5 separate regions of the Homo sapiens genome follow, and regions 2, 3, 4 and 5 are each linked to region 1. The links are contacts of gene promoters, found by promoter capture Hi-C in blood cells and fetal thymus (Javierre and others, 2016). All regions are on one chromosome and are shown on one strand. The core of a region is centred on a gene start or on the middle of the fragment in contact, and the rest is flanking DNA. Distances in the headings are between cores, read along the strand shown.

Region 1 (5,088 bases), core at 1,268-3,767:
GCAGCTAATGGCCATTTGCCTGCCCAAATCCACTATCTATTTACAATCCCAGGAGAATGCTGCTCACCAGTTAGAAGGACCAAGTTTCTCCCCACGCCCCCCCACCCCACACTCACCACCACCACCCACACTAATCAGCTATTCACACTATGTATGCCCTTGGACACACCAATTCAAGAAAGTGGAACCTATCTGAGAATCTCCACGGTTCAGCAAAAGGTGGAGGAGGGGTAGGAATACAAGGTCAAACCCTGCCCAAGTGGGCTCACAGCTCAAGACTCCATCCTGTTTATTCACAAAGCTAATTCTGCCCACTGGCCCACGCAGCCCTGGGCCCTGCACTTTCAAAATACTCCATGAAGGCAGCACACTGACTTATTCGGAAGTTGGCTAGGGAGCAGCTGAATTTCCTAAGCTAATAAGGACACCCCCAGACCCAGTCTCCCTACCTTACTCTTCAGCTCTTCTCGCACTTTCTGGAGAACATGTGGGTAGAGCCCCAGGTAAGTGATCAGAGATGTGGCTGCACTGGCCGTGGTTTCGTGTCCTCCAAAGAGGAGTTCGGTTGAAGATTGCTTTAGTGCCTAAGAATAGAGTGAGACCCACATTCTCACAAGTCTGCCTGCGGTTTGACAGAAGGATTACTCAGAATCGAACTGAGAGTTCTGGAGGGAAGACTAGAAGGGCTAAATGTTTTGCTGACAGAAAGTCAAGGAAAGCAATATCTTTAAACAAAATGCAACGTCCCTTTAGTTCAGCTGGAGCAGTAAGGCGAGTACGACCCCGCTCTACCGGAAACTCCTGAGTTAAAGTCTTAGTTTTATTAAAATCGCAAGGTTCTTTATTAACATTTTTGCAAATTCCAACTTTCCCTTTGAAACCTGGAAAGGCTAGGGGATGCTCCCAGTTCCGCCGCAGCCCCTTCCGCAGCTCTCCTGACCGGGTGTCTCAGCCTTCCTTCGGGATTCCATAGCTGTAGTCTGAGCCGGCCGCCCACTCCAGAAAGCTGGGCCCCAGGCGCGCGCTTTGGGGGCCCCAGGAACAGCGCTTGGAAAGCCAGGGGACCAAACTCCGCAGTGCCTGGTCTGAAGCTGCTACTCACCTGCATGTCCAGCCGCTCTCCCCTCTCCCACGAGTGCTCGATCAACAGCTGCAGCGCGTCTTTGCAGCCCTGGCCCGCCTCGGATGCCCGCAGCCCGCAGATCTTGGCGCGAATGTTCTGCTCGATGCGCGCGTGAATGAGGTTCCGCGCCTTCATGCCCTGAGCGCAGAGAGCGCGCGGCGGTGAGCAGACGCCCAGGTCCCGCGCCCCTAGTCCGCAGCCCGTTTGCCGCCCTTACCCGGTACAGCCCGCTGAAGGGCACGTCGATGGGCAGCGAGAAGAGATTGCGGGTCATTTCCTCGAAGGCCTCCACAAGCTGCTGCTCGGAGTCCCCGTCGCCCGCCAGTTGGGGTTCGCAGCCCAGTAGGATGCGCATGGCGATTCGGAACATGAGGCGCTTCACCTCGGGGTAGACCAGGAGGCCGCGCTCGCCGCAGCTCAGCCACTGCTCCAGGCTGCTGCCCACTTCCTCGGTGATCACCGGCACGTAGCATTCGAGTGCCTCGCGGCTGAAGGCCCGCATAATCACCTGAGTCCCGAGGAGGGGACAGCGTTAAAAGCCTCCATCCGCCCCTCTCGTCTACCGCCGTCCCCTTCCAGACACCCCCAGTCCTGCCAGACACATGGCACTCTCCGAGCTGGGAAAGCTAACCTGGAGCTGGCAGAGGGTCCTAGCCCACCTCAAGCTGCTAGCCCGCGCCTAGCATCCATCAGCCGGAATTCCGCTCATAAATGGGGTCCCCCTCCCTGTCCAGCCGTCGCCTCCTGCCCCCACCTTCTTGCGCTGCTTGTGCGAGGAGTCGTGCAGGTTAGAGAGGCAGCCAGATCCCAGAATGGTGCGCACCGACGCTGGCCAGTGGACCGACACCAGCCGGTGCTCTCCGAGCAAGATGCGCCGCACATTGTCCGCGCCCATCACCCGTACGGTGGGCCGCCCGAACAGATGCGTCTTGTAGATGAAGCCGTATTTCCTGCGCTTCATCTGCAGGAACTTCCTCCGCTGTGGGAGGAAGGCGGAGGAGAGAAGTGGGCATGAGGGGGCGCCGGGGAGCGCCGCGCTCCCGCCAGCCCTGCTCCTAGCCGCAATAGCATGCCTCCCGGGGGCGCCTACCCCGACTTCAGCAGAAGCCCAGAGCCGCGCCGGGCTCCGGGGAAGCAGCCTGTCCCGCCCCACCCTCCCTTACCTGCAGTACCATCTGCAAGGTTTCCCCAAAGAAGGGGAAGCCCATAGTCCCGGGGGGCAATGGGAGGGCACAACTGCGGTCGCGGCCGCTCACGCAGTACAGGTCCCAGAGCTTGATCGCAGCCAGGAAGAGCAGCAGCGGCAGCACGAAGGTGCAGAGCGCACTGGCCAGCAGCGCCGGGAGCCCCATGGCGCGCCGCGACCTCCCGCGCCACCTGCCGCCGCCGCCAGCGCTTCAAACCCCACGGCGCTGCCGCTTTATAGGCGGCCCAGGTTGCTGCCCACGTTACCTTGGTCAGACAATTAGTTCACCCAAAGTTCATCTTTAATTGCGGATTGGGCCCCTGGCTCCTCCCCCCGCGAGGCGCTGCCCAAAATCTTTAACCGTTTGTTCCGCGCCGAGGCAGAGGCGGCGCGGTGGCGGCTTCCCTCCGAGCGCGCCTCCTGGGGTGCGGGGCTAGGAGCTGCCCGCCTCCCCCATCCAAGGTGTGCTGAGCTCCGAGGCGGCGGTGGGGGAGGGCCAGGACTCCGAGGAGCCGGAATTCCAAGCTCTAGCCTTCCCGGCGGTCTCTTTGGAATCCCTCCCGCCCGGTCCCACCCGCTGCCCCGGCCCAAAGCAGCCTTCACTGGCTTTCCATTTCCAGGTGCCGGGTGGGCTCTCTTCCACGTGATGAGGAAGCAAGGGAAAGTCCTTTCAGGAATCGTCCAGCTGCCTCCTCCCACGTGTGGGGAAACTGAGGTCCAAGAGAGATGCATAAAGCAGGCCTCCAGACGTCTCCGAAGGATCGCGCAGAAGAACTCAGGGCCAGAGTCCAAGAGAGAGCCTCGGGGCATCGGGCGCAATAGGCAGATCTGGGATCCCCAGCTCCCCAACCCCTGCAAGGGGGCCAGGACTCATGAAGTCTTAGAAGGTCCTACTTCAGGATACAAGAAGGCCTCCAGGTCCCTCAGGTCCCCAGGTGCTACCCTGCACAAGCCTGATCCCCGACCCTGGGGCACTTCGTCTGGGGCTCGGCAGTCGGTGCCCGTCTCTGAGATCCAAGCACAGCTCGCCTATTCGGAGGGCCCTGCTGCTTGGCGCCCCAGCTGGACAGCAGGGAAGGGGGTCCTTAGCCCTGGCAGGATAAAGAGACGGTATAAGAGGAAGGGGAGCCCAGGAGTCCTGGCTCCGAGGCCCGGCTCCATCTGTACTGCGTGTGACCTTGGGCAAGTCACCACACATCACTGTGCCTGTTTCCTCCTCCTTAACCGGGAGGCGATCATTCCCGACCTGTCTAAGCCTCAGGGTAGTGAGTTCCCAAAAGGGGGCTCCGGTTGCAACTACTCTTCCCAGCTCCAGGCACGGTAGACTGCGTTACCTGGGTGTCCGGTACACCGGGCACTGGAGTCCTCCTCCTCTCTCCCAAGTCCCACCCAGAGTAAAGCCACTGTCCTCATCCAGGTGAGGGGGTGCTCGGCCCTAAACTCAGGGCTCTACCGACCCCTAATGGGAGGGGTGAAGGGATCCGTACTGGGAAGTCTTCTGTACTTTGCCCATCTACAATCAGCTGCTACTGAGCTGCCAATGCCCGGAGCTCAGACGCTGCGGGACGCGCACCTGCTCTCTCTGCTCTCCACCTGCCGGAGCTTCCCGGCTCGGGACCAGTCAGGGTCACACGCTACCTGGGTTTGGGCGCTGAACGCACCTGCGGCGCCGAAAATGAAACAGAATGACCTGCATTTGTTTAAAACTGAACACTGTCTCTGGCAGAAGCACGCCGCACGCCTTGGAAGGCGTCCCTTGGAGGTGGAAAACTCTGCTCCTGAGAGTTTAAATGCGTTGCCCTTCTCGCGGTAGTCCCCAAACCCGGAGGTATCAGGAAATATCTGCAGAGGTCGGAGGGACCCGCACAATCCTAGCGACTCTCCAAGCCAGAGTCGCCGCCACAGGGAGTGTTTCGGGGGGTCAGCGTTTCCCCATAACCTGCCCAGTGTTTCAGAGGCTCTGGGCAGGGTTTCAGTCTCCGGCAAACGATTTGGTGGCTGTAAACACGGCGAACCAACCTCTGGCCACTGCAGGAAGCCAGGCCAATCGCGCTGGAGGTAATTCTCAGAAATCCCGGGTCCGCCCCTTTCTGGACAGCGCCTCCGGCCGGTGTGCAAAGCCGACGAATGGGGACGTGACCTGGGGCCCATTCCCAATCCTCGGGCCTGACCCGCCTGTGACCCCTGCAGGCCGGACCGTGACATCCGAGTGAACTCTGCGGGGCCACCTCGCCAAGTTCAGCTCAAGCCGGGTCACAAGATGAGCGGGGCCTGCACGCTGGAAATTGCCGCAGGGAAAAAAACGTTTTAATCTATCTGTACATCGAGGCCGGCGGGGGCGTCCGGCAGGAAAGGATTAAATGTGAGAGTGAACGATCATTAAAGAACATCTTGTAGGGGGGCAGGGCGGGGGGTGGGGGGTCAATAAATTACCAGGCCAATAGGAACTTTGATCTAGGAATCTCGCCAAGCTTTCGTGGGTGGTGGTGGGCGGGGAGGGGGGTGGGTTCACTGAAAAACAACTCGTTTCCAAGATGTTTACAAAACAGCCTCCCTATTGCTAAGAGGCGGGGATGGGGAGTCGGGTTTTTTGTTTTTTTGTTTTTTTGTTTTTTTTGCTGGTGGGGTGGGGTGAGGGTACAGGGACTAGACTGGAGTCACAGCAAAGGAGTCCACCTCCGCTTTTCTCCTTTCAGCCCCCGGTCTCATTTCTGAACGTGCGTTCCTGTCTCACAGTTCTATACCTGCTGTTCCCTCTGCATGTGGCACCCCTCCCCCA
Region 2 (5,088 bases), core at 1,647-4,146, 420 kb before region 1:
CATTTATGTTTTGTGTAGTGTTCTATATGTGTAATTATATGTGTAATTCTTTTGTGGAAAAGTTTGGTTTAAAAAACAATGAAGGGGTCTCCAACCATTAAATAAAGCCTGAAAGAAGTAGGTCACAATCAAGGACATATCTTGGCCCAAAATAAAAAGCTGTTGGTAAATAATGTAATTCTGAGTATATAGGCACGAAATGTCATTACTTAACATAGGTCCTCTGTTTTAGAAGGTAGCCTAGTTCAGATCCATCTTAATAATCATTTGAGAGAGCACAGTGGGAAAAAGTGAAGAGAACCTAAAATAAGACATTTACTGGAAAAGAGGTATAACATTCAGGGGAGTCAGGCATGAAAGGAATTAAGAATAAGGGGCCAAATTAAGTAAGGAGAAACTCAGTATCTGCTAACAGTACTGGATGACAGTTTAGAAACAAGTATATAATATAAACTTTAGCAGGCAAAAATCTAGTGAAGCATACGATGCATATAAATAGTATATAAAAGTAACTCTAATTAAGGAGGTTAAAAAACATTTTTCTACTTCATGTATCCCAAGATAAAATAATGGCAGTGTGATTAAAGGATATAAAGGAGTATGAGCCCATTAGTGCATTCAAAAATTACTATAAAGCCTACTATTTACCAGGTATCCTAATACATGCTGGGTGTAAACTGGTTTAAAAAAAAAAAAAAGACATGTTCCCTAATGTTATGGGGCTTTCAGTGTAGTAAAGGCAGGCAATAACAAGGAAACAAACAAGGGTTCATGAATCCTCAAACTGTAATAAATATTACACAAGAGAAGTACAGGGATAAATGATATCAGTAAAAACAGGAGAGACCTCCTTAGAATGGTAGTGAAGTGACTTTTAAGATTGTCCTGTGTGAAATCAGAACGTCTAAACATATTAGAACTGTGGAGATTGAGTAGAAGAAATCATCTATCAAAAGGTTAGTCCTGGATTTTTGCCATTATAAGGTGAAAGATTGCAGTAGCTCATCCATCAGTTAAAGAAATGCAAGGTTATGGCGTCTCTCAGTCACCTGCTGCCACAGGAAGTTCTTTCCTATGTGTTTCTGTTGATAACACACTGTTGACTTGATATCGTGGGTCGTAGGACAGAAAACTACTACCAAGTCATTGAGACACAAAATGATGGAAATATAGATCTGCAGAACGTGAAAGAACCCCCAAACATCTGCTTCCTAACCTTTGCACAGAAACTCTGGCAGTGAATGAATGACTACTAGTTTCTAGCCTCTGGCCCAGACGGTTTGGATCTCCCCCACCACCTAGTCCCACCAACCTCCTTTCCCTGTATTTTCTTTTTTCTGTTTCTGTTTCTTTCTTTTTTTTTTTGGCGGGGGCGGGGCGTTAGGGGCGGCAGAGTCTCGCTCTGTCGCCCAGGCTGGAGTGCAGTGGCACTATCTCAGATCACTGCAACCTCCGCCTCCCGGGTTCAAGGGATTCTCCTGCCTCAGCCTCCTGAGTAGCTGGGACTACAGGTGCGCGTCACCACGCCTGGCTAATTTTTTTTTATCTATTAGTAGAGATGAGGTTTCACCATATTGGTCAGGCTAGTCTCGAACTCCTGACCTCAAGTGATCTGCCCGCCTCGGCCTCCCAAAGTGCTGGGATTACAGGCGTGAACCACCGCGCCCGGCCACCTTTCCCTGTATTTCCTATTCCAGTCATCCACAGGGTTCCCCCAGTTCAAACCTTCCTCAGCATGCCTTCCCTCTGTGAACTCTTAACAAACGATATAGCTGCCCCACCCCCACCCCTACACAATCTAGTACCCAATTACACTTCCTGCTAACCTTTTATTTTTTCAATTGTTCAACTATTTTTTCAAGGACTGCACTTTGATTTTTGTTGTTGTTGTTGTTACCCACAGAGCCTAACAGCAAGCCCTCAGATATGATTGGTTGATTGGGGCCGGGCGCGGTGGCTCACGCCTGTAATCCCAGCACTCTGGAAGGCCGAGGCAGGTGGATCATCTGAGGTCAGGAGTTCGAGACCAGCCTGCCCAACATGGCGAAACCCTGTCTCTACTAAAAATACAAAAATTAACCGGGCGTGGTGGCGCACGCCTGTAGTCCCAGCTATTCAGGAGGCTGAGGAAGGAGAATCGCTTGAACCCAGGAGGCAGAGGTTGCAGTGAGCCAAGATCGTGCCATTGCACTCCAGCCTTGGTGACAGAGCGAGACTCCATCTCAAAAAAAAAGAAAAAAGAAAAGAAATGATTGGTTGATTAGCTGAAGTGACCTAAGTCATGCTGGACAGGTGACCAAACAAGCGCTTCCATCCAGTAAATGGTACAAGGCCTCAATTACAAGCCGCATCTTCTACAAGGCGACGCCAATCTTTAAAAATTCCCACATAAAATCTCACTTGAGGAGACAGACAGGAAAAGAGAAACTGCAAAAAAAGGCACAAGTTTTCTCACTTCTAAAATAAAGATGTTTGAGGAACACACAACGAAAGTGCCTGCCAATCGGAAAAAGCCGTCCTAACAAAAGACCTTGGGCAAGTCACTTGGCCTCTCTGCGCCTATCTGTAAGGAGATGATACCCACCGCCAAGTCCAAAGAAGCGATCGAAGAGACAACGGTCTTGAGGCGCCCAGCCGGGTGCCAGGCACGAAGTGAGCGCCAGGGAAAAGGACTGTTATCAGAGCGGGCAGAGATTGAATCCCGCGGACGCGATCTGCCCACTGACCTGCCCTCCCTGGCGGTCCGGACCGGCCCGGCCCCGGGGCTGCGGGTCCTGGCCGCCCCTCGCCACCCTCCGCGGTCGCCTCCCTTGGGCCAGCTAGCAGCTGAAGCGAAGCGCGGCGCTCGCGTCGGCCGAGTCACACCATCAGGTGTGGATGCCGCTTCCGGGAGTTTGAATCCCGCGGCTGCAGGGCGGGGCACGTCACTGCCGGCAGGGCGCGGCCCGCAAGAAGGAGGAGCAGCGCGCGCGCGGCGGGGACGCGGCTCCCCGATTGGCTGCCGCCTTTGAAGGGCGGAGAGTAAACCTGAGGGCGGGCCGAGAAGTGGCTGGGGCCGCGGGGCGGGACAGAGGGCGGGAACACTTCCTCCCGGGCCCGCCAGCTAATTCTGGGATCGGGGGTTCTCTGCGGGCTTAGACCTAAACAAGCTTGGTGTCTCGCAGTCAGGGGCTGGTTTTGTGTTTATACGCTTTTAGGAGAAAGCAAATTACTATTTTTAATGGGATAAAACCAGTGACGATGGACCGAGACGAACTAGTTCTGCGCTCTTGAGCATAGATTCTCCCTGTGTGAAGTGCGGCCCCTCCTGCCCTGGGACAACGGGATTTCACAAAGGAGCACAGCCCCCTTGTCATCCCCTCGGGTCTCACTCTGTCGCCCAGGCTGGAGTGGAGTGGTGCAATCATAGCTCACTGCAACCTCAGTCTCCCGGGTTCAAGCGATCGTCTTGCCTCAGCCTGCCGAGTAGCTGAGACTACAGGCGCACGCCACCACGCCCGGCTAATTTTTTATTAAAAAATTTTATACAGACAGCGGAGTGGGGGGGGGGGGGGGTGGTCTCACTTTGTTTCCCACTCTGATCACGAACTCCTGCCTTCAAGTGATCCTTCCACCTCGGCCTCCTAAAGTGCTGGGATTACTGCCAAAAATCAGCAGCACAGCAGGGAGTGTTAACGGGAGAGATGAGAGGCACGCCCAGGTTGAACGCTGAGATTATGAATGCTAGCGGACCGGCTTTCAGACCAGACTGCTACCCTCCAGCCTGATATCTATCTATTGATCGATTCTAGCTCTTGATTAGCCGCTTTGAGAACGTTACTGCTGAGAGAAGAAGCACATGAAATGTTTAGCAGGGCCTCCCTTTCTCTCCTAGACCCAGCATAAACTCGCTGGAGATTTAAAACAGTAGATACACAGTAGCAAAACATCCTAGGTACACAATATTGTACAAAGGTTATAAACTCTAGATTAGGACTTTCTAGATTTAATTCCTTACTGCCCTGACTAGATGTGTCTCCTTGGATAAATTTATTTAACCTATTTGAGCCTCGGTTTCCCGATGTGTAAAATGATGCAAATAATAATATTTACTTCACAGCTCGGTTATAAGGATTAAATGAGGAAATCCGGCCAGGTGGAATGGCTAATTCCTGTAATCCCACCACTACGTGAGGACGGGGAGCGAGGATTGCTTGAGGTCAGGAGTTGGAGACCAGCCTGGGCAACACAGAGAGATCCACTCTCACCCCACCCAATCCCTGTCTCTAATTTTAAAACTTTAAAATTTTTTTACATGAAAGAAATTCATGTAAAGTGCTTAACATTTAGTAAATGTTCAATTGATGTTAGCCATTGTTAAACAAAAGGCAACACTCAAATGTTACTGAATAGAATGGATGAGAAAACCATGTGGGGAATTTTAAAGAATCAGAGAAACAAAACCAAAACAGAATGCAAGATAACGTTTGGTACCTGCTTCCAAGGAGCTCCCATTTCTGAAGGGAAGGTAAACTAAAGTATCAAGTGGGATTAGGGTGGGAAAAATCAGGGCAAAAGATAAATCATCGTGTGAACATTATTCATTGCCCAGAGTTGAGGGGCAAAATTAATTTCCACAGAGATTTACAAAGATTCTTAAAGAGATATAGAGAAAAACATTTCCCTGTTCACCTTCAAGCCAAATGGGGAGCAAAAAATGGGGGAGAGGGAGGAGGGACCCTGGAGAGAGGTGGCACCTGGCGGACTGGCACCTGGGTAGCCAGCACCCAGGCCTGCTGTGCCAGACACTCCAATTCCACACCTGCCCTCCAGGACCTTCTTTTCTGGCTAAAGGTCGCCCTGTGAGTGGGGACCTTGAGGAAGAGGAGCAAACAAGAGGCTCATTGGCCTGGGGGGCTTGTTAAATTCCCTAATTGCCATTGCTAGCCCTGAAAATTAATGTTTGCTCTTTACAGATAGGAGCTGCCAGTCATGAGGTTGTGAAGAGCTGGTAGTTTCCACAAGATCTCACAAGTACTTTGATGTTGATAGTTCACTCAGGGATAGTCTAGGATGAAGATTGGGAAACTCATCTTTATTCATGTAAAG
Region 3 (5,088 bases), core at 1,931-4,430, 390 kb before region 1:
ACCTCCTCAGCTGGGTTTGAAATGTATTTGCTGAGTACTTGAGACTTAATTCATTCTCTAGCAAATTATGTGAAATATACTAGTCAGAAGCCAGAGAGGTTGAGTGGCTCCAGAGCCAGAAGACCTATATTCAAATTCTGGCTTTGTTTCTTACTAGCAGGTAATCCTGGACAAGCTACTTAACTTTCTTGTGCCTTGAATAAGGATCATAATAATAATAGGTAACATTTACAAAGCCCTTAGAAGAGTGCCTGGCAGATGGTAAACCCTATAGTTGGTAGGAATTATTCCTGGGCATTAGATACCAATCTTTATTAATGAAGAAGTCTAGATATGAAGAGCTGGAGTAAGTAGACCAAGTTCACACCACTGGAAGGTCTGAAAAAGTGACAGGTCGCCTGGCACCCTCTGCCTGCAGTGGCAGTTAAGAGCACAGGTTTGCTGAGAATGATGGTTTCCAGTTTCATCCATGTCCCTACAAAGGACATGAACTCATCATTTTTTATGGCTGCATAGTATTCCATGGCATATATGTGCCACATTTTCTTAATCCAGTCTATCGTTGTTGGACATTTGGGTTGGTTCCAAGTCTTTGCCATTGTGAATAGTGCCGCAATAAACATACGTGTGCATGTGTCTTTATAGCAGCATGATTTATAATCCTTTGGGTATATACCCAGTAATGGGATGGCTGGGTCAAATGGTATTTCTAGTTCTAGATCCCTGAGGAATTGCCATACTGACTTCCACAATGGTTGAACTAGTTTACAGTCCCACCAACAGTGTAAAAGTGTTCCTATTTCTCCACATCCTCTCCAGCACCTGTTGTTTCCTGACTTTTTAATCATTCTCAGCAAACTATCGCAAGGACAAAAAAACCAAACACTGCATGTTCTCACTCATAGGTGGGAACTGAACAATGAGAACACATGGACACAGGAAGGGGAACATCACACTCTGGCGACTGTTGTGGGGTCGGGGGAGGGGGGAGGGATAGCATTAGGAGATATACCTAATGTTAAATGACGAGTTAATGGGTGCAGCACACCAACATGGCACTTGTATACATATGTAACAAACCTGCATATTGTGCACATGTACCCTAAAACTTAAAGTATAATAATAATAAAATTTAAAAAAAAAGAGCACAGGTTTGGAAACAAGGCTGACTTGGGTCTGAAGCTCAGCTCTGCCACTTACTGGCTCTATGATCTCGGGCAAGTCAGTTAACAACCCTGATCCTCAGTTTCCTTATCTGTAAAATGAGCATACTCATATCTCCTATTTTTGTTGTTGTTGTTTGTTTGTTTGCTTGTTTGTTTGAGATAGGGTCTTGCTCTGTCACCCAGGCTGGAGTGCAGTGGCCTGATCACGGCCCACTGCAGCCTTGATCTCTAGGGCTCAAGTGATCCTCCCACCTCAGCCTCCTAAGTGAGTAATTGGGACCACAGGTGCAAGCCACCATGCCAGGCTAATTTTTAAATTTTTTGTAGAGATGGAGTCTCATTATGTTTCCCAGGCAGGTCTCAAACTCCTGGACTCAAGCCATCTCCCACCTCTGGCCTCCCAAAGTGCTGGGATTACAGGTGTGAGCACTGCGCCCAGCCTCCCTTGTAGGGAACAGACGTGAATGTGTTTAATATGCCCAGCACACAACACAAACACCAAGGCAGTCAAGCCAGGTGCCTGGCCCTCCTGGGAGCCCTTCCCAGCAGCCCTGGCAGTGAGCAGAGCTGGGACATGACCACGCCCCAGCATCAGCTTTTAGGAAGCAGATTCTGGCTGAGTCATTCAAATGGACTGGACTTCACTGCAGCTCCCTTGGAAAATGTGGGTTTGATTCAAGAGCCTGTACATCTGAAAGGTCATTCCCAGAGGCCAGTGGGGCACTGGGTGTGGAGAGGGGAGCAGTCACCCCTCCTGCCTTTTTGCTGGGGCATTTCTGTTTATCAGTGATATCAGTGACTGTTTCAGAAATGTCCCAAACAGCCTCGCTTTGTATCCTGTTGCCACTTGCCCAAAATGCCTTTCTCCTAGAACCTGTTTGGCAGCATCTTCCTGGAACGATAGGGCAGCCAAGGTTGGAAAGCCAAAGTCAGAGACACTCCTGGAGAGGGGTCCACCTGATGGGCCCTGTGTCCCTGTGCTCCCCCAGGTGTCTCTCAAGTCCCCAGGGTGGAGGCGTTTCTGCCAGCCCTTCTCAGAAACTTCTCTGCCCCTTGTTGATAGTAGAAATTAGCCAGCTCCTGGAGGCTGCCAGGCTGCCTGCCAGAGAGGAGCAGTCACTGCTCACATGCCAGCTGCCCCAGGGAAACTCAGAAGCCTGGAATGGAGCCACGTGGAAGAAATATTCCACCAGGGCGGTCCCAGCCTCACAGGGCACTTCCTCCAGTCACAGGGGCCCTGCCCTCCGGAGCTCCACAGCCTGGGAACTCCCTGGGGGGATGCAAGGAGGCTGCCCTGGTGCTGTAATAAGAAATCATCTAGCTGTGTGCGGTGGCTCACGCCTGTAATCCCAGCACTTTGGGAGGCGGAGGTGGGCGGATCACCTGACGTCAGGAGTTCGAGACCAGCCTGGCCAACATGGTAAAACCCCATCTCTACTCAACATACAAAAAGTAGATGGGCATGGTGGCACATGCCTACAGTCCCAACTACTTGGGAGGCTGAGGCAGGTGAATGGCTTGAATCCAGGAGGTGGAGGTTGCAGTGAGCCGAGATTGTGCCACTGCACTCCAGTCATCTCAAAAAAAAAAAAAAAGAAAAGAAAAAAAAGAAAGAAAAAAGAAAAGAAAAAGAAAGAAATCATCTGATAGCTCTCATTTGTTTAGTGCTTACTGTGTGCCAGGCCCTGGGCTGGGCACTTTGTATTCATTCTTTCATTTAATCATTAAAGCCGCCTAGTAATCACACTTATATGAACTTATGAAGTCCAATTTACTCCGTCATGGAGAAATTACTATGTAGTAAGCGTTGTGGGGGGAATAACAATATTAATAATACATAGTCTCAGCCTTCAAGGCATCACCCTCTTGTCTTAATCCTCCAACTTTGGAAACTAATTGCTTTTTGTCTCTTTCGACCGGGGTTTGAATCCCAGCTCCATCACTTACTAGCTGTATGACCTCTAATAAGTTGCTTAACCTCTCTGTGTCTTGGTTTCTTCCTCTGTAACTGGGAATGATCATAATAGAATTTATCTGTTAGAGTTGTGAAGATTAAGTGAGAGAATCCATGGGAAGTACTGGGAACAGTGACTCAGTTCAGAGCACTTAATAATAAGTGCTAGCCATGTATGGGTGTGGTTCAGGGGTGTGTGAAATGTTAGGCAAAATGGCAGATGAATTCATATGGGGCTTTATATATCTCAAAAGAAAGGAGGCATGACCCAGAGACCTAGAAAAGGGGAAGAAGTACTTCTGAATGGGAGATCAAATGTAGACTCTTGGCTGAACCTAGAGATCTTGTTGTTCTATTTTGTCTACCGAAGAGCTGAGTTACTTAGGGAGCTTTTGTAGACAGCACCCTAACTTTTCCTGAGGCCATTTCAGAAAGACACAGCAATCTAACCGTTCAGGACTTGGGGGGCACATCATAAAGGTTATGTACCATAAGTCTGGGGGAAAACTTAGAGATTATATATCTCGTCTGAATGCATCAGTTTATATATGAGGGACTCTGAGCTTGGGGGTTCAGCCTTATATTTTCCTAAGATAACAGCTCAAAGGAAGAGAAGTCACAGATATGAAAGTTCAGTCAGAGGGGCTGGGCCGACATCTGTGCTTTTCCCTGCAGGATTTTTAGGATCAGTGAGACGGTGTGTATTTGGAAGCATTTCAAATGTGTTACCATCGTGTTACTTCCGTGGGCACCTGGTGTTATTGGTTGGACTAGTCAGGATTCTCCAGAGCAGCAGAAGCAATGGGATGTGTGTGCATGTGTTTGTGCAGAGACAGAAAGAGAGATTTTAAGGAACTGGCTTATGCAGTTGTGGGGGCTAGCAAGTCTGAAATTTGCAGGGCGGGCCAGCAAGCTGGAAATTCATGTAAGAGTTGATGTTGCAATCTCTAGTCTGAATTCCACAGCTTAGAAAACTCAGGCAGGGTTTCTATGTTAGAGTCTAGAGGCAGAATTTCTTCTCCAGGAAACCAGTTTTTGCTTTTAAGACCTTCAACTGTTTGGATGAGGCCCATCTAAATTATAGAGGGTAATTTTGCTTTACTTAAAGTCAACTGAGTGTAAATGTTTATCACATCTACAAAATACCTCGACAGCAACATCTGGACTTATGTTTGACCAAACAATTAGACACCACCATAGCCTAGCCAACTTGACATTAAAATGAACCAGCGCAGCTGACCACCGGCACAGATGTAGCAAGCCAGTCTCAGGAGTCCTGATGTCTTTCAGGCCTTTTTTTTTTTTTTTTTTTTTTGAGACAGGGTCTTGCTCTAACACCCAGGATGAAGTGCAGGGGTGTGGCCACTGCAGCCTTGACCTCCCAAGCTCAAGCAATCCTCCCACCTCAGCCTCCTGAGTAGCTGGGACTATTGGTGCATGCCAGTATGCCTGGTTAATTTTTAAATATTTTGTAGAGATGGGCCGGGTGTGGTGCCTCACGCCTGTAATTGCAGCACTTTGGGAGGCCGAGACGGGTGGATCATTTGAGGTCAGGAGTTTGAGACCAGCCTGACCAAAATGGTGAAACCCCCATCTCTACTAAAATACAAAAATTAGCCGGGCATGGTGGTGGGCACCTGTAATCTCAGCTACTCGGCAGGCTGAGGCAGGAGAATCACTTGAACACAGGAGGCGGATGTTGCAATGAGCCAAGATTGCACCACTGCACTAGATCCTGGGCGACAGAGTGAGACTCCCTCTCAAAAAAAAAAAAAAAAAAAAAAATTTGTAGAGACGAAGTCTCACTATGTTGCCCAGGCTGGTCTTGAACTCCTGGACTCAAGCGATCCTCTGGCCTTGGCCTTCCAAAATGTTGGGATTACAGGTATAAGCACCGCACTGGGCCAGGCCTTTTCAATAAGGTTCTGACACACTGGCTGGTAGGTGAACAGCAAAGGAAATGGTTCC
Region 4 (5,088 bases), core at 1,692-4,191, 310 kb before region 1:
AAATGTGAAGGTCAACTTCAAAGTCTAATTGCTCTTTATTTAAATAGCATTATCTTTTTATAAAAATAAGTTTATCTGCGCTACCCCCAAATGTTTTTATTTAATATTTTATGTAGCAATAAGAAAAGAGAAATATGGCAAACCTCATGGTGCTTACAACTTGCATTAATACAACTAACTCCCAAAATGGAGGAAAATAGTCTCACCTAACTAACTAATAACTAATATTTATTTCAATAGATTGAATGTTAAAAGCCTAACACCTCATGATGATGTTTCTCTCTCAGTAAACACAGGAGAAACAGAGGTAGGCTTTGTTCCAACGTTTGGACCTTGTTACCTGAATCTTTATGGAAGCCCCAGAGAGTACACGGGATTCCCAGACCCCTATGATGAGCTGAATACTGGAAAGGTTGGTTTCTCAATTAAGGTGGTTATTAATCAGCATTGGTTAAGGTGATTATTTCTTCTTATAATGTCTGATCAAGTATTGCAGGATAGAAGTTTCATACTCCCTAAGACTTAGAATGCAAAGATAGGAAAAGACTGTGGAGATCATCTCACTGGGGGATGGCCAATGGCCAATGGCCATTTCCCCCAACTTCTATGCTTATGGTAGACATCAATAATCAATGCTGGCTCTCTTTCCTAATAAGCCCCTGGGCTGCCTTGGAATTCTTTTCAACATCATATTCCAGGAATTTACCAAGCACTAGGCAGTGGCATGCACCCTGAAACCCTTTATTACCCTTGATCTGATCAATCCTTTCATTTCATAGATGAAGACATGGAAGCCCAGAGATGGGAGATGCTCTTTTTACCACAACAGAAGCCAAATGTCTTTTAGGTTATCTCCCAAGGCTCAAGAAAGAGACCAAGCTAGAGAGAAAAAGCCCTCAGAGGGGAAGGGTAAAAGACTGGCTGTGGAGGTGGGGACCCTTCCGTCCTTTCCAGAAGGTTCTATTGCCAGCACTGCTGGGTATGGTGGGAGAAGTATCCACTCTTCATCCTCAGGCTCAGCTGCACCCAGAACTTCTTCCTCCTACATCTTCCTCCTTTACTTCCTGGCTATTCTGAGACTTGCCCTGGTTGCCAGCATGGCAGCCTCCCTATTCTGAGAAGAGGAGAAAAGCAGCCAAGTTAACCCAGATAAATGCAGAGCTTCCCTGCTGAAGTACGGTGAAGGGAGACTTAGAGCCCCATCCACCCCCCACCCCCCACCTCCCAGCCTCCACAAACTCCTTCTGGAGCTAGAGCATGGTTTGAAGACCTCTGACCTTGGTCACAGCTAAGATCTTTTTCAGCCCTAGCATCCCAAGGTACTCTTTGAGATCTGTCCTAAAGCCAATGGCTCTCTTTCAAACACCAGAGACCTGAATCCAGCTGGGAGAGTTGCCGACTGATTCATTTCGAAGGTTAGGGCCATGGGAAGGAGAAACTTTTTGCAGTTGTATTAGCCTGACTAGAGACACAGAATTCTTTTTGCTGTTGCTGCCTAGAGGAATAATCCTGGATTATTGCCTTTCAGGGGGAAGGAGTTGCCTACAGAGGCAGGATCTTGGTTGAATTAGCCACTTTTCTTGAGAAGACACCACCAGATAAAAAGCTTGAGCCCATTTCAAATGATGACCTGCTGGTTGTTGAGGTAAATGTTAAAGTGTGAGTAATGCATGGTATAGAAAAGGAGACCTCCAGGGACTGAAGGGGTAGCTGGGGGAGTCGGAAGGCAACCCAACTCACAATGAGGCCCTCATCTGGATGTTTCTACAACAGCCCTATGAGGATCGCTTCATCCTTTGAGATGTTAATACCCTATTGAAAACTGGCAAGAACACTGATACCCACAAACTGAATGACCTGTTTGCTAACTGGCGTTGGGGGTCATGGGGAAGTGGCCATAACAGCCACTTCTTGCTGGCACCAAGAGCTGTAGGTGCCACCTCTACTCATTTCCATTTTCAGAGGTGGCTGGTGGGCCTCAGGCTTCCCAGCACAGGAGGGCAGGTGTGCTGAGGGCCCACACTGCAATGGCTGTGAACCCCGCTTCCTCCTTGAAGACAGGAAATCTTCCCAGTTGACTTCCCCAACCATTTCTGAGAATCCAGGTCGATGCCTGTGTGTTCCACAAATCTGAATCATTTGCCAGCACAGCCAGCTCATGGATGCCCCTCTGCCCGCGGCCCTCCTTGCTGGGTTGCAAATCACCGCCAGCCCCCCAGCTGCCCCAGGCTGCTGTTGCCCTCTGTTCCAAGCACACAGGACAGGCCCTGCCCTGATTTCACCACTTTACAGCAGAAACCAAACAGCAACTTTTAAAAAGCTTTCACTTTCAGTTTTTGGGATAAGAATACGAAAATACAGTAAAAAGGGTGACAACGTGGTTGCGAAATGTGGCTATTCTCAAAGCTCATGGGGTCAGGCTGGTGTTCTGGGTCCCTGACAGTCAGCCTTCCTGTCTACTCGCAGCCTGTCTCCTTGTGGCAGGACTGGGTTCTCCATGCTCTCCCCCAAACTCCCGTGGTACCCAGAACACGTTTTCATCTGAGTCCAGGCCCAACTGCCGTGAGTTCTCCAGCGAGCCAGGGCCTTCTCCCTCTAGTCGTCTGATGTCTGCCTGTTACATCTGCCCCCTTTGCAGGATGATTGACAGGGAGAATAGCCACACCCTTTAACAGAAACTATCCCTTCTTCCCCAGAGCAATGTGGCCTTGCTCATTGACTCCCAGAAGGCAGCCGTATCAGGAGGTTAGCATCCAAAGCAGTCTGTTCTGGATTCCTCAGCCTTTACATGTTGGGAACATCTGTGGTCCAGTGCTTGAGCTGCACCAATTTCATTCCTGTCTCCTCCTTTGAGAGGAAAGGAGCAGGCTCCTGAGACTGCCCTCTCTCCACCCCCCAGCCTCAGGAAGGAACCTAGCATCACCACAGCAGCAAGCCACGGGGCATCCGTGTAACTTCACATGGGGAAAATAAATAGTTCTTCCCCATGAATTACTACAGCAAAGATGATCATTTGTTTTGTTTTTTTACTAAAGAGACACGGAGCCAAAAGTCAATAAGGTCCTGGTCATAGTCTTTCTATTCCACAACATTACCCACTCTGAAGTCCAGGAATTGCAATAGATCTTGAGGAAAAATTAAGAAAAGGAAAAAAGAGGGCGGGAGAGTGAGAAAAGGGACAGTTTGCATGCTAGTTACAGCCAGGATCATGCAAAAGAATAGCCAGAAACCACTTGGAGGCCTCCGTGGAGACACATGGTGGTTCTTGACTTGAGTAGTTACAGATTGGAGTTAGCTCTTGAAATATTGGTTGGAATTCAGGGTTATTCAGAAATGCCACCATGGACACTCAACCATTATAGTACCTCTTTTATTTGGTTCCATCACCAGAATGTAATTTAAGTTCATGCTGCTTCTCTTTGTTTTAAATAACCATAGTTGCAGGGAGAAGGAGAAAGAGGCCCAAGAAAATATTTTTTAAATGCTTTATTAACTGGAATGCAAAACCAAATTAGTTTTCTTCACTGCAAATAGTTAAACACATACAGGCAAAGAAGCTTATTTCATTAATTTAGTGTAAAAGCAAAAAAAAAAAAAAGTCAACAATATATATTGCCCACAGTATATGTCAACAGAATAAAAGAACAGCTTTTTATTGACTGGTAAAACAGAATTCATTTTCTTTGCTCTAAATTAAACACAGACAGCAAAATAGCTCATCTTTTTAATTAAATAAATATAAATCAAAAGTGAAATGAAGCAAAAATTTTAAAAACCTAACAGTGTTACAGAATAGGAGAGAAATGAGGATTCTGAAGACATAGCCACACTTCAAGCAACAGGAGCCCCAGGAGAGAGTGAAATGAGCAGATCTGTGCACCTGCCAGAAGGACTTAACGAATGCAGTCAACCTACAAACATGCTCATGACCCTTGTCTGTCTTGCAAAGGTCCTCTGTTCTGGATTATGTGCAGCTAACAAAACTTTTTGGTAAAGCTAAAGAGGCTGCAACAAATGGGCAAATTTTTTGCCAAACTGCCAAGTGCTCCCCATCTTTCTAAAGCAGAGCTGAGCTATTGCTCCCGGTGGGCCTGGTCAAGAGAGGCTGCAGTGCAGGAGGGATGCAGCAGATTCAGCCTGGCCACTTCCACAGTAAGAATCAGGCAGACAGAAGATCAAGTGTTGCCAACCCAGTGTTATTCTAATACCCGCTGGCTTCTGGAACCTCTGCCCTGCCACTAAAGGACTCCATTTTTTGTCTCCAGGATCAAGAGTCTGTTCTTGGACTGCTTTCTCCCTGCTCCTCTTTCCCCATTTTCCTTGGATGTGACCGAATGTATTTTGGGAGCATTCTATGCACTTGCATTCTCTCTCCTACTCAACTACAATCTCCTTGAGAGCTCTCATTGGTCTGGCCCACATTAAGGGCTCAAAAATATTGCTAGAAACAGCACCTTCAGGTTCTTCCAGCTGCTCCATCAGGTATCAGCTCCCTTCAGTAGACATACCGAAGGTGGCATGCTGGGCAGTGTTCATTGGTACCTGATCTTGTCACTGACCTTTAATGTCCCATGCCTTGTGTGTCCACAGCCACTTTCAACAACTCTTAGCCCTTATCGGTATCTTGCTTGACAGAAATCACCTCCTTTTGCAAATCGACTGCTGAAACTCTACTTTATACCACCTTATCCACAAGGTGCACTAGTCACTGATGATCAGAAAGAGAGCCCCAAGGCCCTAACCCCACCTAAGTCCAATAGACTACAACTTACATTCTTCTTTTTTTTTTTTTTTTCTGAGACAGAGTTTCACTCTTGTTGCCCAGGCTGGAGTGCAATGGTGTGACCTTGGCTCACTGCAACCTCCACCTCCTGGGTTCAAGTGATTCTCTTGCCTCAGCCTCCTGAGTAGCTGGGATTACAGGCACCTCTCACCATGCCCAGCTAATTTTTTGTATTTTTAGTAGAGATAGAGTTTCACCATGTTGGCCAGGCTGGTCTCAAACTCCTGACCTCAGGTAATCCGCCGCCAGCCTCGGCCTCCCAAAGTGCTGGGATTAAAGGCGTAAACCACCACGCCCAGCCCAAT
Region 5 (5,088 bases), core at 1,236-3,735, 260 kb before region 1:
AATTTTTAGCTAGTGAGTATTGTATTACAAGGCATTACTGGCTAAAAGGGCTAAGAAAATGAGATAGTAGAAAACACATATTGGAGGTTTTCTTTAAATTTATATGTATATGTAAATATGAAGTCAATAGAATAAAAATGTAAAAACCAACAAATTAATAGACTGTGTGTAAAAGACATAAGAACATTATCTAGTATGATTGTGGGCATTAAAGCCAAACACATTTCATCGGCCCAGAATGGCCATTTCACCTCTAGCTTCTGAGTAGGAGAGTCGTGAATGCTTTGTCCATTGTGCATGTAAACAAAAGTCATATAATCTCACTTTTAACAGGGTCAGAAGAACCTATTTCTTCTTAACTATTACAAATGCATTTTCCTGCATCGATTGGAAATCCAGGACATCACTAAAGATTTTTCCATTTTGGCATGTCTTTAGGAGGAAGAAATCGTGGACTGGTGGAGTAAATTTTATGCTTCCTCAGGGGAACATGAAAAATGCGGACAGTATATTCAGAAAGGCTATTCCAAGCTCAAGGTACCTGGATCTATGCTGCTATGGGTGGAGAATCAACATCCTTTGAAACTGGCCACAGGCAGAGCTAAGAGGATGACTAAAAGGTCCCTTGGGTGGGTGCTAATGAGCAGGGCCCAGGAAAACCTCTGTCTTCCCGGAGAGCCCTCTTGCATGAGTTTCGGCTTTGCCAAGATTCCAGGGACTTGAGGACAGCTATTGAGTTATGGTTACGTGACTGCCACATTGGGGCTTGGAGGCATCTGGCAGATGGTTGGGAATGGGCTGGCACCACACTAATTAGGCCACGATGATCCAGTTTGACTCAGGGAAACCCAGAAGTCATAGTGCTCTTTGCAGAATGACACAAGATGTCAACATGCTTTGTTGTGTACTTTGAACAGGGATTGGTTTCACAAGCTGAAAAGTTGAATCTGTCACATGTATGCAGCATAAAATCACAGCCGTGAGAACATGTATACAGCAGGAAGACAAGCGACTGAGCTAGGCACGGCTGACTAGCTCTGAGCTTTCTGTTCATGTTTTGAATTTTCTAATTCTTCATTCAATTTTCAGCCTGTAGTGTCCTCAAGCAGAAGCAGTGCTAAAGTTTTCAGAACAGTGTATATGAGAAAAAAAAACTTTAGAATGAGAAATATCTGGTCATTGAAATAATTTTCCCCATCAAAGCAAAAAAAAAAAAAACCCACACCTTTTCATGTTATTGTCATAACTTCTCAGTGTAGCTTAAGAAATACTAGCATATAAAGGACCATTCATTCAGAAAAATGATCCAATGAGGCTGAAGGATCAGCCTCACACTCCATCCTCCCTCACTCCCTCTTCCCTTCCTGCCTGCCTTCTTTTCCTCCTGCCTGCCTGTCTTCCTACCTTTCTTTCCTTCCTTCCTTCCTTTCCTTCCCTTCCTTCCTTTCTTCTCTTTCCTTCCTTTCTTCTCTTTCCTTCCTTTCTTTCCTTCTTCCTTCCTTCTTTTCTTCCTGCCTTCCCTCCCTTCTTCCTCCCTCCTACCTGCCTCCCTTCCTTCTTCCTTTTCTCCTGCCTTCTTCCTTCCTTCTCCTCCTTCATCCTCTTCCCTTCTTGCTTTTTAAATTGAGAAATATTTTACATACGATAAAGTGATCCATTCAACAAGTTGTGATTATTGTATATACCCTATGTGAACCACCACCCAAAACAAGACAGAACATTCCCATTCCCACAGAAAACTTCCCCGTGTCCCTTTCCAGTCAATTTTCCACTATCCTCATCCCTCCTAGGAGCAACTGATTGGATTTCTCTCACCACAAACTGATTTTGCCTGATTTTACACTTGCTCTAAATGGACTTGTATGATTTATGTTTTGTGTGTCTGGCCTTTTATCCCCACGTTGTAGTTTTGAGACTCATCATGTGGTTGTGTGTATTCATAGTTTTTCCCTTGTCATTGCTGAGTAGTATTCCATTGTGTGGATATGCCACAAGTTATTTTTCCATTCTCCTGATAATGAAGCTGCTGTGAACATTCTTCTACCATGTGTACGTGTTTTCACTTGTCATCAGTAAATGCCTAGGAATGCAATCTCTAGATCATAGAATAGGTGGCTACTTAACTCCAAAAGAAACTACCAGACATTTTCCAAAGTGGTTGTATCTGTCTACACTCCCGCCAGCGATTTGGGAGTTCCGGTCGCCCCATCCACAACCTCAGGCCCACTTGATACTGTCAGCCCTTTTGATTTTAGACCTTACCTGCATTTTAATGAGAAATTAAGACTCTGTTGGTGGTTTTCAGATATATAATTGTGAACTAGAAAATGTAGCAGAATTTGAGGGCCTGACAGACTTCTCAGATACGTTCAAGTTGTACCGAGGCAAGTCGGATGAAAATGAAGATCCTTCTGTGGTTGGAGAGTTTAAGGTGAGTAAGATGTGTGTTGGTCCCGTTTAAAATCCACCTTCATTTTCTATATAGGCCTAGAATAAAGGACAACCAGGCTCTAGGGAGGGGCACATCCTGCAGCCTCTGAGGGATGCTGGCATTTTCTATATAGGCCTAGGATAAAGGACAACCAGGGTCTAGGTAGGGGCACATCCTGCAGCCTCTGAGGGATGCTGGAAGGTGCCAGAAAGGAAAAGGGGGAGGGGGGCCAGAGCACTCGAGCCATCTCCGCATCTCTTCCTGCCTCCCTGCTCACGCCAAGCAGCCTTGACTGAGCCATCTCCGCATCTCTTCCTGCCTCCCTGCTCACGCCAAGCAGCCTTGAATCCTAAGATACAGTCTCTCCAAGATCTAGTTCCTCTCTTCATCCTACTGCCCCTACCATGCTTTCAGCAGGATCATCGTGACAACTTCTCACTTGACAGTCCTTGTCACCTTTCTCGTCACACTCCTCTCCAGCCTCCATGCAACCAAATCTGATCTTCTCTCTGGACTACTGAAAGGCTTTGCTTGGGTTTTCACAGTCAAGTCGCAACTCCTTTCAAAGGCAGAGCCAGTCTTTCCCAAGCTACATGGTCCCCTGCCTCCCTCCCCCTCACACACTCCACCCTCCTGCCTGGGAGAGCCTCGCCCAAGCCCCGGACACACCTTGTCCTCTCAATAAGTCGGAGGCTTGGGACAGGCTCTTCTTCCTTCCCTGGGTGCCCTTTCTACCTGCTTTGTGGTCTGACGAAGTCCTACTCATTCTTTTAAGCGCCAGCTCAAATGTCACTCTCTTTGTCAAGTGTTCCCTGATTGCTTCGGGCAGCGTGACTCACTCCTGCTCTGGGCTCCCACAGGTCTGGGTTCATGCCTCCATGAAAGCATCTTACACATGGAAAGTATCTGCTTTATAATTGCCCCTCCCTGCAACCACGCTTGGCAAAGTCATGGCAGATGTGCTGCTGCTGCTTTATAATCCTTTGCCTGTAGCAGACATTGCTAAGGGACGAGAGGATGATGCCTGATGTGTGGTCTCAAATCCTTCTCAGTACAGCCTCCCACCAAGCAATCACATATGGCACAAGAGCCAACCCTACTGAACATCGCTGTGCCAGACGGGAGTCTTTGAGTTCTTTTGTGGGTCCCTAGTACCTGGCACATAGTAGGTGCTTATTCCATGCTGCTTGACTGAATAAAGACCACTGGAACTAAGACCTGTATGTTCTGAATCCGGCTTCAGTGCTTTCTCCTGGTTTTAAGGCAAAATATGTGGCCTCTCCAGCAGGTCTTGTTGGCTCGCTCCTTCAAAATACAATTTTTGTGGCGTTACTATATGCCTAGTCCTGTGTTAGGCCCTGGAGATAGGGTGATGAACAAGACTTTATGCTCCCCTCACCCGTCTCTAGAAGCCCACAGTCTAATGAAGGATCTAGAGAATAAATAGATTATCTCAATGCAGAGGCCAGTGCTGTGCCAGGGGTGAGTATGGGGTTGGATGAGAGCACCCAGAGGACATACCAAGCCCAGGAGCAGTCAGGGAGGTTTCCTGGAGGAAGTGACACCTTTCAGCTGAGATTTGAAAGATAAACAGGAGTTTGCCTGGGAGTGGGAGGTGGAGTACAGAGGTGCTACAGGAAAAGCGGAATCACTGTTGGTATTTCGTTGGGTTTAAAATGTAATTATTGTTATTCCTATCTTCAAAGAATGTGCAGTATTTCACTCTTTCTCACCACCACCTCCTCCATCACACTGGCCCATGTTCTCCTCTTGACTCCCAGTTTCTGCTCTGCCCTCTCTTCTCCCCTGTGAGCTCTCAAATAATTACTTGAGAATCATTTCACTTTCCCTACTGGAAATATGCAAAGTGCAATATACATTATTTCTTTCACAAAAGGCAGCCTTCCATCCTTCAATCCCACACCCCTGGCGGAGGAGGGGACTTCCCAGGAGCCCTCTACCTGGGCCACCCAGGGCCCTGTGAGTCCTTCTGTCTCTCTCTTTTAGGGCTCCTTTCGGATCTACCCTCTGCCGGATGACCCCAGCGTGCCAGCCCCTCCCAGACAGTTTCGGGAATTACCTGACAGCGTCCCACAGGAATGCACGGTTAGGATTTACATTGTTCGAGGCTTAGAGCTCCAGCCCCAGGACAACAATGGCCTGGTAAGAGTTTGGGTGTGGGGCCTTCTCCTGTAGCAAGATAATTACAGTCATCAGCCACAATAATTGTCATGTTCTTTCTTTCTGGGCGTCTGTTATCTCACTAGGGGAAAGATACTCCATCAAAACAATGTATTCAGGAGGATTGTCCCCATGGGGATTTATCTAAGAGCTTGCGGGGGGCTTAAGGTCCCCTGGTTCATCCTTCTCATTTTACAGGTGTGAGCCAGGACTCCCCCCCGCCCCCTGCCACCACCCCTGCACCCACACAACTGGCTGCATGCCACCCAAAGGAGAGCATTGCTCCCTTGTCTTAGGCACGGGGTGCCATGGCGGCCACCTTGTCATCAGCTGGGAGTGGGTGTGGAGGCGAGCTGAGTCTGTCCCTGAACTTGACTTCACCTTGCGCCCTACAATGATGTAACATCCCGTCTATTTTGTCCCACAGTGTGACCCTTACATAAAAATAACACTGGGCAAAAAAGTCATTGAAGACC

The links. Contacts are between HindIII fragments. The CHiCAGO score rates a contact against its expected background, and 5 or more counts as called.
Region 2: a contact is called between the fragment with the promoter of CEP55 here and the fragment with the promoter of CYP26A1 in region 1, in 5 of 17 cell types (M1 macrophages, endothelial precursors, megakaryocytes and 2 more). The highest score is 9.5, in M1 macrophages.
Region 3: a contact is called between a fragment that was not itself captured here and the fragment with the promoter of CYP26A1 in region 1, in 1 of 17 cell types (megakaryocytes). The highest score is 5.1, in megakaryocytes.
Region 4: a contact is called between a fragment that was not itself captured here and the fragment with the promoter of CYP26A1 in region 1, in 2 of 17 cell types (megakaryocytes and naive CD4 T cells). The highest score is 6.0, in megakaryocytes.
Region 5: a contact is called between a fragment that was not itself captured here and the fragment with the promoter of CYP26A1 in region 1, in 11 of 17 cell types (megakaryocytes, M2 macrophages, non-activated CD4 T cells and 8 more). The highest score is 12.1, in megakaryocytes.

The regions. Positions count from the first base shown.
Region 1 is chr10:93,071,322-93,076,409 of GRCh38, reverse strand. It overlaps CYP26A1 (cytochrome P450 family 26 subfamily A member 1), which reads right to left and starts at 2,517. Exons shown (of 7, transcript NM_000783.4): 1 at 2,287-2,517; 2 at 1,878-2,102; 3 at 1,341-1,631; 4 at 1,103-1,261; 5 at 450-584. The coding sequence starts at 2,475. The HindIII fragment of the contact is 6,992 bases long and covers 1-4,782 here.
Region 2 is chr10:93,494,420-93,499,507 of GRCh38, reverse strand. CEP55 (centrosomal protein 55) reads right to left here and starts at 2,896. Exons shown (of 9, transcript NM_018131.5): 1 at 2,585-2,896. RefSeq lists a silencer at 2,568-3,077. The HindIII fragment of the contact is 5,966 bases long and covers 1-3,151 here.
Region 3 is chr10:93,463,212-93,468,299 of GRCh38, reverse strand. The region is part of intron 1 of MYOF (myoferlin); the gene reads left to right. Among named protein-coding and RNA genes, the nearest start is that of MYOF, 17 kb to the left of the region's middle. The HindIII fragment of the contact is 6,694 bases long and covers 1-5,088 here.
Region 4 is chr10:93,384,354-93,389,441 of GRCh38, reverse strand. MYOF (myoferlin) reads left to right here. Exons shown (of 54, transcript NM_013451.4): 18 at 288-412; 19 at 1,529-1,645. Among named protein-coding and RNA genes, the nearest start is that of MYOF, 95 kb to the left of the region's middle. RefSeq lists an enhancer at 4,871-5,088. The HindIII fragment of the contact is 1,237 bases long and covers 2,323-3,559 here.
Region 5 is chr10:93,333,264-93,338,351 of GRCh38, reverse strand. MYOF (myoferlin) reads left to right here. Exons shown (of 54, transcript NM_013451.4): 40 at 439-537; 41 at 2,306-2,431; 42 at 4,439-4,594; 43 at 5,040-5,088. Among named protein-coding and RNA genes, the nearest start is that of MYOF, 150 kb to the left of the region's middle. RefSeq lists an enhancer at 3,241-4,440. The HindIII fragment of the contact is 5,675 bases long and covers 1-5,088 here.